Regions from separate parts of the Homo sapiens genome. Here region 1 is linked to region 2. The links are contacts of gene promoters, found by promoter capture Hi-C in blood cells and fetal thymus (Javierre and others, 2016). All regions are on one chromosome and are shown on one strand. Each heading gives the region's core, a stretch centred on a gene start or on the middle of the fragment in contact. The rest is flanking DNA. Distances are from core to core; before and after follow the strand shown.

What was found. Contacts are between HindIII fragments. The CHiCAGO score rates a contact against its expected background, and 5 or more counts as called.
Region 1: a fragment that was not itself captured here is called in contact with the fragment with the promoter of IER5L in region 2 in 1 of 17 cell types (M0 macrophages); the score reaches 5.0 in M0 macrophages.

The regions. Positions count from the first base shown.
Region 1 is chr9:129,774,177-129,776,876 of GRCh38, reverse strand. No RefSeq gene overlaps it. Among named protein-coding and RNA genes, the nearest start is that of PTGES, 22 kb to the right of the region's middle. RefSeq lists an enhancer at 1,245-1,811. The HindIII fragment of the contact is 3,905 bases long and covers 1-2,700 here.
Region 2 is chr9:129,176,943-129,179,642 of GRCh38, reverse strand. It overlaps IER5L (immediate early response 5 like), which reads left to right and starts at 1,382. Exons shown (of 1, transcript NM_203434.3): 1 at 1,382-2,700. The coding sequence starts at 1,591. RefSeq lists enhancers at 1-497, 498-1,421, 1,159-1,453 and silencers at 1,178-1,557, 1,788-2,127. The HindIII fragment of the contact is 12,631 bases long and covers 1-2,700 here.

The DNA.
Region 1 (2,700 bases), core at 27-2,526, 600 kb before region 2:
TTGCTGATGACGAGATCCCAGCCGGGGGTCAGGCCTCCCAGGACTGTCAAGCTGGGCTGCTTGAGTCCCTGGCTCCAGGGGTGGGGGTGGGGCTGAATGGCAAGGGAGAGAGCTGGTCCATTCCAGGCTCCAACCTCAGAACCCTCTGGGAGTAAGATTACCCAGCCCTGTGCTCGGGCTGAGCAATCAACTATAGCGCACACGCTCCTTTACTGTGGTTCCGAGATAGTTAATTGAAATCTGGATACTCTGGGTAAAGTCAGAACATCCAGCTGGGCCCAGCATGGGAGATCAGCTTGATGAGTCTCCCGCACCCTATTCTGGGCATCAGCAGAGTCAGTTCTCTGAAGAGTCTTTTTCATATATATCACATAGATAGAGAGATAGGCAGGTTGGTAGGTAGGTAGATAGGTCAATAGGTAGGTAGGTAGGTAGTTAGACATAGGTATCTATCTATCTATCTATCTATCTATCTATCTATCTATCTATCTATCTATCTATCTATCTTACTGTAGTTTAGCACAGACATTGGTTAAGTCATGTCACTCCTCTGAACCTCAATTTTCTCATCTCTAAAATGGGGATATTAGGCCGGGCGAGGTAGCTCATGCCTGTAATCCCAGCACTTTGGGAGGCCAAGGCAGGTGGATCACCTGAGGTCAGGAGTTCAAAACCAGCCTGGCAAACATGGTGAAACCCTGTCTCTACTAAAAAATACAAAAAAAATTAGCCAGGTGTGGTGGCACGCACCTGAAGTCCCAGCTACTCGGGAGGCTGAGGCAGGAGAATTGCTTGAGACTGGGAGCCAGAGGTTGCAGTGAGCCAAGATCACACCATTGCACTCCAGCCTGGGTGACAGAGCAAGACTCTGCCTCTAAAAAATATAAAATAAAATAAAATAAAATAGAGATAATAATAGACCCACCTCCTAGGATTGCTACATGAGGGCAATGAACTGATCTACATAAAGCACCAAGCATAGTGTCTGGCAGGTAAAGTTGGCCAGTAATGTCATCAACATTGTTATATAATAATAATTATTGTCATTAATTTTATTGCCCAACTGGCGTCCCAGCCTGAGCTGAAGCTCTGTCTCTTGGCCACCCTGTCCAGGAGGTATGAGCCTGTTTTCTTGGGCCAGATCTTCTGCTTGGCTTGAAGCCAAAGTGTGACTTCCCAACCTCTGCATGCAGCCCCCTCCCCAGGGTGCTGGTTGGTCTCTCCTCTCAGCTGCTGCTGCAATGTGCTTCACAGTGACAACACACCCACAGCTCCAGTGGCAGTTGATGCATCCTTGTGGCCAGAATCATGCCTGGCAGGACGCATGTGGCAAAGGGCTTGTCTGGGTCGGTGCTATGCTCTCTGTGCCAGGGAAAATCCAGCTCTTGGAGTGGGTGAGAGCAGGGAGGCCTTCATGGTGGTGGAGTTAGGGGATGGGAGAGACAGGGAAGCAATGAGGGGCTTGCACAGAAAATATCGTTTTACCCTAAGTACCCAGATGACAAATGAGACCCAAAATGACCTTTGGCAGGGGCCGTGGCTTCTGGGGACCCCAGCGTTTGACAGAGCAGGTGGCAGAGCCGCAGGACCCAGCTCTAGTGTGTGGCAGTTTGTTGGTTTCATTGCCGTTGCTGGGCCAGACGTGCACTGAGGACCCCGGGATAAAGGGGTTTACTGTGAGGATGCTGGGGCCCAAGACCTCGTGGGCACAGGACCCAGGTGAAGACCCCAGGGCCCGTGAAGAGCCGAAGTGGATTTCACTGTAGGGGCTTCTTGTCATCCCCAGGGGTACACATTCTTGTGGCCGCTCCTGCTGCTGGCAGCCGAGTCCTTGGCCACGAGCCCAGCCTCCTCTGGGGGGTGGGTCTCAGCCCAGGCCCACATCGGGCTGTTGATTTCATTGGCTGCTGGCTGGCCTCGCCATTGGCTGCTTGCAGCCAGGTGCTCACCCCTGCCCATCAGCTGTGGCCATGGTGGTGCCAGCAGGGAGAGGAGCATGTGACTTGCACGTGAGGAGTAGCCGAAGGCTTCTTCCCTAGGGGACATGTGTCTACCTCGGGGCGATGCGTCTACCTGTGGATGGGGAGGGACCCCTTATTGGGGCCCAGGCAGGTCCGCATTCTGGGCCTTGTCCAGTACACCCTCTGGTTTCCAACCAGCCAACCAGGCTCCTGGGGGACCCACCAACCCTCCCCTTTCTTCTCCGTACTTCTCTCCTCACCTGGTAGACACACATGTCTTCATTTTGGTTCTTACGTTGAGAGACAAACCCATCCTTCCCTCCCTTTCTTCCTTCCTCCCTCCCTCCCTCCCTCCCTCCCTTCCTTCTCTCTCCCCTTCCTTCCTTCCTTTCTTTCTTTCTTTCTTTCTTTCTTTCTTTCTTTCTTTCTTTGTTTCTTTCTTTCTTTCCTTCCTTCCTTCTTTCTTTCTTTCTTTGTTGGTTTCTTTCTTTCTTTGTTTCTTTCCTTCCTTCTTTGTTTGTTTGTTTCTTTGTTTCTTTCTTTCTTTCTTTTTTCTTCCTTTCTTTCTTTCTCTCTGTCTCTCTTTCTCTCTTTCTTTTCTTTCTTTCTTGCACCTAGGTTGGAGTGCAGTGGCATGATCATGGCTCACTGCAGCCTCGACCTCCCAGCCTCAAGTGATCCTCCCTCCTCAGCCTCCTAAGTAGCTAGGACCACAGACATACACCACCATGCCTGGCTA
Region 2 (2,700 bases), core at 133-2,632:
CCAGCCCCACAAGGTCCACCTATCTCTGGGAGACTCTGCAGACCTCGTTCATCCTTCAGGGATCCACTCATGGACCCTCCTCAGGCAAACCTCCAGACCATTTCCAAGAGCCTCCAGAGCTGTCTGGGCAGCCCCCACCCCAGGCACCTTTGAAACCCCTGGGAGCAGCAACCAGCCCCCTTCAGGCCTCTTGGTCCAGATAGAGCGCCCCCAGGAATCAGCAATCCTGTCCCTCTCTTCTCCCACTGTCTCAGTCCCCAGCTGGGACCTGAAGGGTTCAGGATAAGAAGGAAAGCTGTGTCAACAGAAGTTAAGTCGGTGAGTCCCCGGGCCTTTGGTATTCACCTCCCGTCTCGAGCGCAGGGTCCTGTCCCAGCTCCTAGCTCCGCCCCCTGGGAACTGTGTGGTTCCCCAAGTCACTCCACTCCTCCGAGCCTCAGGCCCCTCCTCTACAAACGTTAGAGTGAGGCATTGGGGAGTTGCTGGGAAGGGCCTGCCCCATATTAGGCCCATAATAATAGTCCCTATTGTCATTATTATTAGTTAGGCACGAAAGGAAAGGTTACAGAGCTGGTGATTAGGGCACTCAGCGTTTCGGCTCCCAGGACGCTTTTGAGCCTCAGCTGGTCGCGAGGTCCACACACTCCCTGGGTCATGCCTGGCCTCGGAACTCTCTCCATCAGAGAAGGTCAAAATTCACGATGTTTTGGTTTTTCCTGTCAGACAAATGGGGAGGACTTCCCTTCCGCAAGCATTCCCAGAGGCCCCTCGACCAAAAAGTCAAGGAGTCAGGCCCTACATTCTCTGCGGTAGAGGGTACCCCCAAAACCTCGCTCCTTTGATGTTCCCCAGTGTCAAGCCGGCGGCTCCACCAGCCTCCTGTAGAGAGGCCTTGACTCCCGCGGGTCACTCGGGGGGGCGACAGGTGCGCAGGTGGAGGCGCCGCGCCGCTGGGGGAGCGATGAGCGGCGCGCACCTGCCGCAGGTGAGGCCCAGCCGTGCGGAAAGGGGAGGAGCCGTCGCCGCAGCACTCAGGTGAGCCGACCCCCGGCTCCCGGGACCTAAGGCGAGGGCAGCCGCGGGCTTCAACGTGGCCGCTGCCAGGCGACCTATGCTGCAGACTGCGGCCCCGGCGGCTCCGAGTCCCGCGCGGCGCGGCAGCCCCAGGAGAACATTCGAGGCAGCAGCGGCGTTGGAGGCCCGGGGTCCGTTCGGTATTTGAATAGCACAAAGGAACCGCCTTGGTCTGATTGGCCAGCCGAGTAGCCCCGGGGCGGGCTGCGCCTGTCACTCAGGAGACTCTCAGAGCTCCTATTGGCTCTTCTCATGTGGGGCGGGGCCCGGGCACCCGGCTAAATAGCTGGGGCCGGGGCCGGCCGAGACTCATTGCTTTGGCGCCGTCTGGGGAGCGCGAGCCCGCGGGTGGCGCGCGGCGCATGGTGGCGGCTCCTTTCGGAGCGCAGCCGAACCTCTGACCCGGACTCCGTTACCCCTGCCCGGCGCGCCCCGGCGGCCGGCTGGAGGCAGAAACAGCAGAAGCGTTAACAGCAGCAGCGGCGGCGGCTGCTCCGCCGCCGTCTCCGCGGGAGCATGGAGTGCGCCCTGGACGCCCAGAGCCTGATCAGCATCTCCCTGCGCAAGATCCACAGCTCCCGAACCCAGCGCGGCGGCATCAAGCTGCACAAGAACCTCCTGGTGTCCTACGTGCTCCGCAACGCGCGCCAGCTCTACCTGAGCGAGCGCTACGCCGAGCTCTACCGGCGCCAGCAGCAGCAGCAACAGCAGCAGCCGCCCCACCACCAGCACCAGCACCTAGCGTACGCGGCGCCGGGCATGCCGGCCAGCGCGGCCGACTTCGGCCCGCTCCAACTTGGCGGCGGCGGGGACGCGGAGGCGCGCGAGCCGGCCGCCCGGCACCAGCTGCACCAGCTCCACCAGCTCCACCAGCTGCACCTCCAGCAGCAGCTGCACCAGCACCAGCACCCGGCGCCCAGGGGCTGCGCGGCGGCGGCGGCGGCCGGAGCGCCCGCGGGCGGCGCGGGGGCGCTCTCGGAGCTGCCCGGGTGCGCCGCGCTCCAGCCGCCGCACGGCGCGCCCCACCGCGGGCAGCCCTTGGAGCCTCTGCAGCCGGGTCCTGCGCCGCTGCCGCTGCCGCTGCCGCCGCCCGCGCCCGCTGCGCTCTGCCCGCGGGACCCTCGCGCCCCGGCCGCCTGCTCCGCGCCCCCAGGGGCCGCCCCTCCGGCCGCCGCCGCTTCTCCGCCCGCCTCCCCGGCCCCCGCCTCCTCCCCCGGCTTCTACCGGGGCGCATACCCTACCCCTTCGGACTTCGGCTTGCACTGCAGCAGCCAGACCACCGTGCTGGACCTAGACACTCACGTGGTGACCACGGTGGAGAACGGCTACTTGCACCAGGACTGCTGCGCCTCCGCCCACTGCCCCTGCTGTGGCCAGGGCGCTCCGGGACCGGGCCTGGCGTCCGCCGCCGGCTGCAAGCGCAAGTATTACCCTGGCCAGGAGGAGGAGGAAGACGACGAGGAGGATGCGGGCGGGCTGGGGGCCGAGCCCCCCGGGGGCGCCCCGTTCGCCCCCTGCAAGCGCGCCCGCTTCGAGGACTTCTGCCCGGACTCGTCCCCGGACGCGTCCAACATCTCAAACTTGATCTCCATCTTTGGCTCCGGCTTCTCGGGGCTGGTGAGCCGA